Regions from separate parts of the Homo sapiens genome. Here region 2 is linked to region 1. Evidence: promoter capture Hi-C in human tissues and cell types (Jung and others, 2019). All regions are on one chromosome and are shown on one strand. The core of a region is centred on a gene start or on the middle of the fragment in contact, and the rest is flanking DNA. Distances in the headings are between cores, read along the strand shown. Region 1 holds the start of SIN3A (SIN3 transcription regulator family member A). Region 2 has its middle 12 kb from the start of CSK.

Region 1 (5,076 bases), core at 25-2,524:
GGAACCCCAGGGAAGGTTTTCCCTCCGCCACATTTCTAGTCTCTGATGACTCCCTGCCCCTCCCCTACCATCACCACCGCGGATCTAGGGTTCCAGCACCAGCCACGCACGCTCCTACAAGAGGACCTTGGGCACTTCGCCCCAATAGTTACAACCAAGAGGGGAGTGGGGGTGACCATGCTCCCACTCTCCTGGCTGCACGGTGCCAGACACGCTGCATGGAGCAAAGCGGAGAAAGCAGCTCCGGCACAGGGCCCTTGTGCCCCCAGGCAGAAGGCATGACCCAGCCACAAGAGTAAGTCCTGACACCTCCACAGCTCCCAGTCGGCGGGTGCCCCTCCCTCCCCACGGAGACATAGGGCGGGGCAGATCTAGGCGCCGAGACTCCCAGCCAGACCCGACAGCGGGCTTTCCCTAGCACCTCCTCATTGCCAAGGAGGCGGAAACCCGGGGCCTGGGCGGGGTGCAGGGGGGGACGGCCAAGGGGAGTGGCATCACGGATCAGTACGGCCCCTCCGGCCAACCGGATCCCAAGAAGGCGGAGGAACTCAGACTTCACGCCCCCTCCCTGCCGCGCCCTGAATCTACACGCGGGAGACCCCCCCCTACCCCTCCCCGACCCCAGCAGGCCAGAGCGCGGCCGCCAGCCCGAGGCCCCGCCCACCCCAGGAGGAGGGGAGGGGGTGGTCGGCCGCAAACTGCACTCAGCGCGAAGCCGGCCCCGCCCCTTTCTCCACAATCGCACGCGCGCGCCGGCCCCGCCTCTGAGCGGCGGCGCGAGAGCCCGCCCCCCTCCGCGCGCACCGGGACTACGCTCTCCTCCCCCTCCCGCGCGGAGAGCTACCCCGCTCCGCCCCCCACCCCCCTCACACAACCACACACCTCCCGCCCGTCTGCTCTACGGGAAGCCGAGGAGGTCAGCCCCCCCCCCCCAAAATACACACCCTCGAGTCCGGCGTTACCCGCCACCAGGCTCCCGCCCGGCCCCCGGCCCAGCGTGCTCTCACCGCAAAGCTGCTTCGGCCGCTCGTCACTGCGTGTCCCTCTCAGCGTGAGCCGCGAGCTCAGCAGGGAGGCCCCGAGAACGGCGCGGGGCACAGGCCCGCCGAAGCGGACTGCCAGCTACCTCTCCACTAACGAAGCGGTCACAGGCTCCGGTGCCCAGACTGGGAAGGAGGGAGGGAGGGAGGGAGGGAAACTCCGAGGGGGGAAGGGGAGGGGGGAAGATGGAGAAACCGTCTCCGCCGCCTCTACCGCCGCGGCCGCTTCTCTGTTACCCGGGAAATCCCGCCCACTCCCCCGACCCCGCCCCGCAGAGGGAAGACTCAGCTTCGTTCCAATACAGGACGCAATACCCGCCCGTCAAAGACTCAGCCAACCACCGAGGCCTGTCTTATGATTTTCCCGCCCCTTCCCCCTCGACTGGTAGGGGAGGGGGAGCCGCTCTCCTTCTCCACGCCCCTATTGGCGGGGAGCTTCCCTAACTCAACCCCGCCTATTGGAGACGGACTGCTGAAGCCCACCCCCGAGCCCCAACACTATTGGAGGAAGCAGGGAAGCTCTTCCTGTCTCATTGGAGGACACCACATAACCCGCCCTGCAGCGTCTCAGCCACAGGCCTAACAAGTTGGCTCCCGCCTCCGCTGGTCATCGCATTGGAAGGCTACCCCTGGCTCTCCCACCGCCCCAGTAAGGTAAGTAACCGATGTGGGGTAAAATGTCTGTAAGTGAAACAGGCTCCGCCTACCGCACTGCCGGGCCAGGCCCCGCCCCAAGAGTCGGATTGGATATCTTGGCGCTGGTAGGACCCTCCATTGGCCAGGGCGCCCGTCTAGGAAGGAGCTAATTCCACCCTGCGCGAGGAGGCTGAACCTTAGCAGTCCTTTTGTGGAATGTTTACACTAGAGACTGAAGCTCGGAGTTCCAGGGCCCGAGATAGGAGGGGGAGCGGAGCTCATCAGCGGAGACTCCACATCCTAGGATTTGAAGGAAAGGCAGCCCACCATGGAGGACTCCCTCACAAAAAAAATGAGAGAATGAGAACTCATCCTTCCGTCCAGTTATCTTTACAGTTTACATTCTACACACTGCGTCCTTGTAAACACAAATATCCGGAGCAGCTGGCAACTCCTTTCAGCCAAGTAGAGTACAGAACTAAGGTCTGGAGACCTAGGCGGAGAAGTAAACTCCCTAGAGCTGAATATGCAGTCCTAAGAGGGCGGAGATAACCAAAAGAGAGGCGGGCTCTAACAGCCACCGCCCTGGCAAGCCTCCGGAAGGCGGAGCGTGAGGCACAAGGTACTCACGATCTCCCGGGTGGATCTGGAGGCATCCTCAGAACTGAGAAAGGAGAGGAAAACACCAAAACAGGCCACGGCATAAATTAACATTGGGGACATGCCACACTCAGAGAATGGATAAAATTTCCGTAGTTGGGGACATAAGATAACGGCTGTTCACCTTCTCCTTGGCCGGGAGTGTTAATAGCAGTTCCTGTGCCCTCTCTGTGTAGGTAACAGTGCCTCGAACACACAGTGAGACAAAGTGCTTTCAATTCCTAGTTTGCTTTTATTTATTCACCAAATAGGGCGTGGGCCTGACGCTGATCTTACTTTGGGGGGCGCTCTCTCAGCGCCAGGAGAGGTGACGGGATTACGTTGTTACCGCTCTCCCGAATAAGTAGAACCCTCCTCCCAGAGAGCTAAGACCCCAAGGGACACGCCCAGGGAACCCACGCCTAGGTCCAACACTGTCCTCCCTCTGCAATCCAGCGGAAACGGCCAGGAACGAGCTCTGGCAGCAGGTGGGCCTGACTCCAGCGATGGCTTCGAGCCGCGAAACCACAGCAGCGAATTGTGAACTCCAAGGGTAGCCGACAGGTGGGAGCAGCCTCGCCAGTAGCCAAGCCCTGCCCCAGGACAGAGCTCTAAAAATAAGTCAGACCAACGAAGCGACCCCAGGGCCAAACTGCTCGGAGGTTAGGAGGAAGCGGCACTCCAGCAGAACTGACCCACGGCTACTTTTAACTTTGCGCCGCCTTCCACCACTAGACTGAGTACCACAGGGCATTCCCACCATGGTATCAAGAACTACTCAGAACCCAAGCCAGCATTAGGCCGCCCACGACTTCCCGTGAACACAGGGTACCACCTGCGCTAAGATCTCGCCTAAGGGCCCCAGGCCAGGGCACTAGGTTGTCAGAGTCTCAGATACAGCCAACTAAGGACAGCCGCTGCCATGCCTAGGAAAGAACAGACACTTGCAGCGTCTGCAGAGTTCTCGAGCTTAAGCTCAGGGAAGTCAAGGGGCACGGAAATAGCCAAGCGACAGGGTTAGAACTTTAGTACTTGGCCCCGGCCCCGAAAGGCAGATCTCAAACCCAGCAGAACCTCCGGAGTTTCGCTCCCGAAATCCACTCCGCACTGTAATCCCCTGGCTTCACCCCGAAGGCTACTAGGTCTCGAGCCTCGGTGGAACCTTTGTGTGGCTTCTCGGCTCTCCCCGCCCCCCTCGCCAAGGGCGCCGAGCCTAGGACTTCCGGGCGGGAGGGCAGTTCGAAGGAGCTAGGCGGGCCTCACACATGTGCGGAGCGCGCTCAAGAGCGGAGGGAGGCGGGGAGCAAGGGTGGACTTCCCCTCCCAGCTCTCTCCGCCGGAGGAGGCCGGGCTACCCGCCCCACCAATCAGAGGCGGGGGCGGGACCTTGCGCCTCACGTCATCCGCAAGAACCGTCCCTCCTCCCTCCGCGAAAAAAAAATCCTAGCAACTTAAACTCCAGCCCGGCCTCCCGATAGGCGGAGCTCGGGAGAATGTCATCCAATCCACATCCAAGAAGGAGAAAAAAAGGGAGTCTCGCCTAGCCAGTGGAAGACAAGAGAAGGCGGGGCCTCCGGGAGAGCCGGAGGTGGGTGGGAGAGAGGAAAGGGGTCCGCCCCTCAGCTCCCCTGCAGGCGGGTTGCACAAGCCGCCGGCGGAGTAGATAGTAAACAGTCTGGGCCGAGGAGTGCAGGCAAGGGCCGCCCGGCGCTCGGTGGACTGGGCCCCTGCGCCGCCTCTCCCGGCGTCGCCCCGCCCGGCCGGGACGGTTCCCGCCGGCGCCCCGCCTACCCGCCCGCGGCCGCCATCCCGGCTGACAGGCGCGCCCCCCGCGCCCCTCCCCGCCCGCTGATGCATTTCCTTTTCCCGATTCCGAGCGTGGAGACTGTTTTCCCAGTTTCCGACCTTCACTGCCCCTTTCAGGCCACCCCCTCGTGGGCGCGCACACGCCCGCGCCCCCGCCCCCGCCCCATCCGCGCCGAGCGGTCCGCAGCAGCACCTCGCGGGAAGGGGGAGCCCGGCGGCGGCACGGTCGGGGGAGGGGAAGAGAGCAGCAGTCGCCGCCGCCGCCTTGGGGTGGGCGGGGAAGCAGGCAGCTCCATGTTTGCAAGGGGATCAGCCGGGGCCGCGGACGAAGCCGCCGAGTTTCTGGGGGTTTTCCGCACCACCGATGCGAGCTCCTTGCTGGGTCGCGGCCTGACGGGTTCCGGCACCGAATGCTGACTCGACCGCCACGGCCAGGGAGTTTGGAGACCCGGCAGCTCGCAGGGCTAGCGGCGAGGCGCAGGGGCTCTTTCCGGTGGCCTCTCCCGCCCCCGGCCGCCCCTCCCGCAAGTCCGGTGTTGCCCCCGCCCCCAGAGTCCATAACAACCGCGGGCCCACAGTGCCCGCGCCTCTCCGGAGCGCGCCCACCGCCCCCTCCAAGTTTGCGGGCAAAAACAAAACCCTCGGGGCGGCTGCCGCCCTTGTCCAGCGTGGGTAGCCAGGGAAGCCGCGGGCCCCGGCTCGCTCGCTAACTCCAGCTCTCGAGCAACTCCGAGCGCCGCGAGCTCAGTGGGCCCCGCCGACCATGCTCGAGCCGCCGCCCCCTGCCGAGCCCGCACGCCGCAGCTCCGGCCCGGTTCTAGTCGGTGTGCGGAATCCCCCTTTTCTTTCCAGTATTTTTCTTTTTAAAAAAACGGCACAACAGGAGTCGGGGGTCTCCTGCCCGCCCCTTCTCCAGTCCGCCGCCAAAACCTACCGAAACCGACTGCTCGGTGAG
Region 2 (5,478 bases), core at 847-3,346, 680 kb before region 1:
GAGGTTATAGTGAGCCAAGATCGAGATCGGACCACTGCACTCCAGCCTGGGAGATAGAGCGATACTTTGCTTCAAAAAATAAAAAATCAAAAAAAAAAAAAAGAGGAAAAAGAGTTCTAGGCAGAGGGACCAACCTGTGCAAAGGTCCTGAGGCAGGAAAGGGGTTACTGTGTGCTTGAAGGCAAATTATCACCCCTCTTAGGAAAGGCATAGCCTCACCTGTGAAATAACCCAAATTTAGAGATGGAGAGACAGAGGTTCAGAGAGGGAAGATGGCTTCTTCAGGAAAGCAGAAGAGCCAGAACTGAAACCTAGATCTTTTTGGCTCTATGAACTCAGAGGTATTTCAGGTATGCATTTGGGGACCTTTTGCAAGATTGTAAAGACCAGGACGGGAAGGAAAGGGCCACCCTCCGGGGGCTTTTCTTTTCCTGGGAAGAAGGTCTTCTTTCCAGGAAGGTGGTGTACGGGCAAGGCTGAAAACCCAGCCTTCATTCTGCCAGGCCAGTCCCCTCCTAGTCCCTGCTGCCCCAGGGCTGCAGAATCCTATCCTGGCTCCTGCCAGGCTCCCCTGCAGCTGGGCAAACAGGCAGTGGGTGGGACTCGGTATAATTTCCTCCTTGCCCGCCTGGGGTCTGCTAGGCTCTGGCTGAGCTCTCTGGCCTCTGCCCTGCACCCCCAACTTGGAGCCCAAAGGGGGTCATGGGTCTTTCTGCCCTGTGTCCCCAGGGATGCACCCGATGAGTTTGAGAAGGGGCTGCCTTCTCACCCAGAGAGAGGTGAGGCCATCCCCTCACCCAGAGAGGGGCTCCAGGCCCCACTCCAAGGGAGAGTCAGAACTTCCCGGTGCCTACAGGCGCACTGTGCTAAACCAGTGTGAGCATCCTGCGCTGATAATGCTACATGCATAAGCTGCGGATGCACAGGGGCTCAGACTCAGGGGACTGTGGGGAGTCCTGGCAGCCACATATACATCGGGCTCACCCCTGTAGCACCCCATCTAGAAAAGCCCATCCAGAGCCAGAAGGGGCTTCTGGGGATGGTTCCTGGAAGGGCTGGGTTCTGCTGTTCTCTGAGTGACCAATCCACCCATTCTTTCCAGAAATGGTCCTATCCCATCTCCTTCCCCTCCAGCCGCTCTCGGTTCCCTGCCCTCATCCACCCAGGATGTCACTGGGCCTGCTGCGAGTGGCTGCCCGGGGAAAAGGCCAGGAGCTCTGCAATGAGCCTGTAATCCCAGCACTTTGGGAGGCTGAAGTGGGTAGATACGCACTACACACAAGCCAGCACCAGGTTCCTCCCACCCAGGGGATGACAGAGGAGCTCCAGCTCACCACCGTGCCTCAAGTCCCCTGCTTAACTGTCCTATGTGAGCTCAGGGCCGCCCTCTGGGGGCTTTTCTTTTATTTATTTATTTATTTATTTATTTATTTATTTATTTATACTTTAAGTTTTAGGGTACATGTGCACAATGTGCGGGGCTCCCTTCCTCCCAGCAGCCATGCTGTCACGTGCTCCTTGCCCCGGAGAGGCAGGAATCTGTCCCGAAATGTCGAGCTGAAACGCTTCCTGGACGCTTGCTACAACCGTGGTCTTCAAATTCTACTAAATTTTTCCAGTGGCAGGATTCACTGTTGAAAGGAAAGCTTCCCACCTTGCCTGTTCCTCCTAACCCCAAAAAAGTCGGGCTTGTGATCTATGGGGAGAAGAATAGCCCCCGCCCCACACCCATCTGATGCCCAATTCTTCCCAATCCATCAGCCCCCAGCCCTGTCCTCATGTCAGGATCTGCCCGCGTCACTCTCCCCAGCCAAGAACTGGAGCCGAAAATGCAGTGTAGGCTGCCCCCTCGTGGGCAGTTAGAGAAACACATGTTTCTCATAGCTGCTAGCCTTTACCCACTGTCTTGGGGACCCCACCCCAAATAAAAAGGCAACCTAAGGAATAAGCGACTTTGTTTTGCAAATACAACTTCAAGACAAGTCTCAAGTCAGTCCTATGCAGAAATTCTAGAGAAGCCACTAAGAGTGGCCAGAGGACAGCCCCCCACTTCCTCTCATTCCCCAGCCTGGTCCTCATAGACCCACCTGGAGTAGAAATTCCTCGTGCAGGCCAGGCGTGCTGGCTCACACCTATAATCCCAGCACTTTGGGAGGCTGAGGCGAGCTGATCACATGAGGTCAGGAGTTCGAGGCCAGCCTGGCCAACAGGGTAAAACCCCGTCTCTACTAAAACTACAAAAAAAAAAAAAAAAAATAGCCAGGTATGGTGGCAGGCACCTTTAATCCCAGCTACTCAGTAGGCTGAGGCAGGAGAATCGCTTGAACCCAGGAGGCAGAGGTTGCAGTGAGCCAAGATCACGCCACTACACTCCAGGCAGGGTGACAGAGCAAGACTCCATCTCAAAAAAACAAAACAAAACAAAAAAAACACCAATTCCTCATCTAACTCCCTGCCAGGAGTTCAACTTCTGTTCTCATACTTTTAAGAACAGAGAGCTCACTACCCTCAAGGCTGATTCATTATATTTTCTGTGCTGGGGCACTGGGAACACTGATGGTGCAGATCCATTTGTAACCTCCTGGGACTCTCACATTGCTCACTTAGCTGGAGCAACAGGTGAGAAAACGAGGGTTGCAGGTGTGCCAAAGGCACAGGGATGAGAGCGGCCAGTTCTTCACGGACCTACACCTCCACCTGCCTCTTCTCAGGGATCTTATATTCAAAGGGATTAAATTCCAGGATCTTGGAGATGGCTGCAGTCCAGCTGCCCCCTTGCTTCTGCTTTCACTTGAGAATCAGCCGAAGTTCCCCGAGCACCTGCTCCATGCCAGGTCCCTCCTGGCACTTTGTCCCACTTAGTCCTTAAAGCTCGCTGTGATAGCGATGTGCTAATGCCCACTGGGCAGATGGGGACAGAGGCGCAGGAGGTCACTTGCCCAGGATGACACCTCTAGTCATTTGCGGAGTTGGATCTGGCCTCAAGCTTGCTGGTGGCTCTTGGAGCCCATGCAGAAGTGACTGGGGCAACACATGACACTCCAACTTGGCATTCCCCTCAAAGGGCCTGGACCAAGCCAAAAGCTGCGGAGAAGGCTCAGGGCAGACTGTGAAGTCAGGAGTTTGACCCCAGCCTGCTATGTCATGCTCCTCCTTCCTGGCCCTGCCTCCACCTGTGCCCTATCTCTGCCTCCCACCTCAAGGTCCAGGACTGTTGCAACCAGACCCTCCTACCCCAACCATGTCCAGCAGGAGATGGTCCCTGCACCAGAAGCTTCTGAAGGTCTACATGGAGGGCTGGCAGGCAGAAGGCAAACATCTCCCCCAACTTGCAGCCCTTCACTGCCGAGCAAACCTAGGACCTGGGGCCTGGGGTCTCTGCAGCTGCCATCTGGTGACCTCCTCATGGGGCAGGAAAAAGAGTTCAGGCTCTGGGGTGGTTCTGTAAATCACCCTCTGTGGGTCTCCCTTGCCCTACAGTTAAGATCTAGATGCTACTGTTTTCCTTGAAGGAAGATGATCAAATGAGAGCAAATGTGCAAACACCCAGCACACAGTAGGTGTTCAACAAAGTGTGCCTTCCTACCTGTCCTCACTTTGCTCTTATTACTCAGGAAAATCTGAGGATGTCAGCAACACTGAGGCCAATCCAGGATCCCCAGGGGCCAGCGTGGTGGTGGCCTTCAAATCAGGGAGCAGCCCACGGTAGGGGGCCCTGTGGGGTCCCAGCAGCCATATGCTGATCTGGCTCACCCACCCCCCAGCACCTCCTCTAGAAAAGTTATTCCACAGCCAAATGGGGCCCCTTCCAGCTCCCTGCCCTCATCCACCCAGGACCTGCCCTGTGATGCTCGCAATCGGGAACAGTCAGCTCTGGCTCCAGCCCTAGGTAAGCCTGGGACATGGTCCTCCCAGGAGCCAAACGGCTCATCTTTCCCAGAGCAGACATGCGCCTGCTCTCCAGGCGTGCCTCTGAGCCTGCCCGACAGGGCAGTGTGACCTTGCCTGCCTCTCTGTCGCTCTCTCATTCCTTCCCCTTGAGCTCTGTGTTGTGGCCACCAGGAGGCGCTGTTCCCCCTCAGACCCGAGTAGACCAACAGCCCAGCGCCACCAGAGACCAGACTGGATTCTAGATTTTCTCTTTTTTTTTGAGATGGAGTCTCGCTCTGTCGCCCAGGCTGGAGTGCAGTGGCATAATCTCCGCTCACTGCAACCTCCACCTCCTGGGTTCAAGCGATTTTCCTGCCTCAGTCTCTGAGTAGCTGGGACTACAGGCGTGCACTATCACGCCTGGCTAATTTTTTGTATTTTTAGTAGAGACAGGGTTTCACCACGTTGGCCAGGCTGGTCTTAAACTCCTGAGCTCAAGTGATCCGCCCACCTCGGCCTCCCAAAGTGCTGGGATTACAGGCGTGAGCCACCAAGCCAGGCCTGAATTCTAGATTCTGAAAGAGGCAGGAGGCGAGTAATCACCCAGAGTGCAAGGGAAGACAATGGCCTTTGTCTAATTGCTGTGAATCTGGCACTTCAAACGCAAGACCTGACCTCATCTTCCCACCCGCCATGATGGGGGTGGGGTCAGGGGGCACCAGTCAGGCTTCTAAGTCACAAACAACAGAGACTGACCTCCAGCTAACATTAGCAGAAAATAAATGCCCCGCTCACAAAGACAGAGAACCAAGCTGGGAATAGGGCAGTCACCCAGGGAAAGTAAGGGCTCCAGTGCGGCTGGAACAGGGCACTGCCAGCAAACATCATCTCCCTGGGCCCCAGTCACACATCCTGGCCCTAGCCGGCCTGACTCATCCCAAGCTTTGGTCCTGTCTCCCCAACATCTATCCTCACTCATTCAGCAAAGCGGGGGGTGGAGGTGGGTGTCAGCACCCGCGCCAGGCCCCACGCAAGGGGCTGGCTCCCAGCAGCCCACCTGGTGGGCCTCCTCAGTGAGCTGCCAAACACACTGCTGGCTGGTCACTTGGTGGAGACAGGCATTGAGAGCTGGCTACACCACCAGCTGCAGAGGACTTGGAGTCGCTGAGGGCTGCAGGCTGCAGGAGGCAACCTGGCTGCGGGGTGAGGGTGGGAATCTTTAGGGGATAAGAACTGGCCCCAGGCTGGGCGCGGTGGCTCACTCCTGTAATCCCAACACTTTGGGAGGCCAACACAGACAGATCATGAGGTCAAGAGATCGAGACGATCCCGGCCAACATGGTGAAACCCCGTCTCTACTAAAAATACAAAAATTAGCTGGGCGTGGTGGCATGCACCTGTAGTCCCAGCTACTCGGGAGGATGAGGTAGGAGGATTGCTTGAGCCCAGGAGGCAGAGGTTGCAGTGAGCTGATATCGCACCACTGTACTCCAGCCTGGGTGACAGAGCAAGACCCTGTCTCAGAAAAAAAAAAAAAGGATCGGCCCTGGGTTCGGTGGCTCACACCGTAATCCCAGCACTTTGGGAGGGCGAGGCAGGTGGATCACT

Evidence for each region. Contacts are between HindIII fragments. The study calls those that stand out against the background at their distance.
Region 2: a contact is called between a fragment that was not itself captured here and the fragment with the promoter of SIN3A in region 1, in 1 of the 25 tissues and cell types used here (spleen).

The regions. Positions count from the first base shown.
Region 1 is chr15:75,450,416-75,455,491 of GRCh38, forward strand. SIN3A (SIN3 transcription regulator family member A) reads right to left here and starts at 1,275. Exons shown (of 21, transcript NM_001145358.2): 1 at 1,008-1,275. RefSeq lists enhancers at 1-612, 40-169, 1,880-1,929, 2,159-2,690, 2,691-3,223 and 4 more and silencers at 420-919, 1,140-1,239, 3,960-4,399, 4,720-4,779. The HindIII fragment of the contact is 10,283 bases long and covers 1-5,076 here.
Region 2 is chr15:74,767,183-74,772,660 of GRCh38, forward strand. No RefSeq gene overlaps it. Among named protein-coding and RNA genes, the nearest start is that of CSK, 12 kb to the right of the region's middle. RefSeq lists enhancers at 152-929, 4,094-4,809, 4,810-5,478. The HindIII fragment of the contact is 3,893 bases long and covers 151-4,043 here.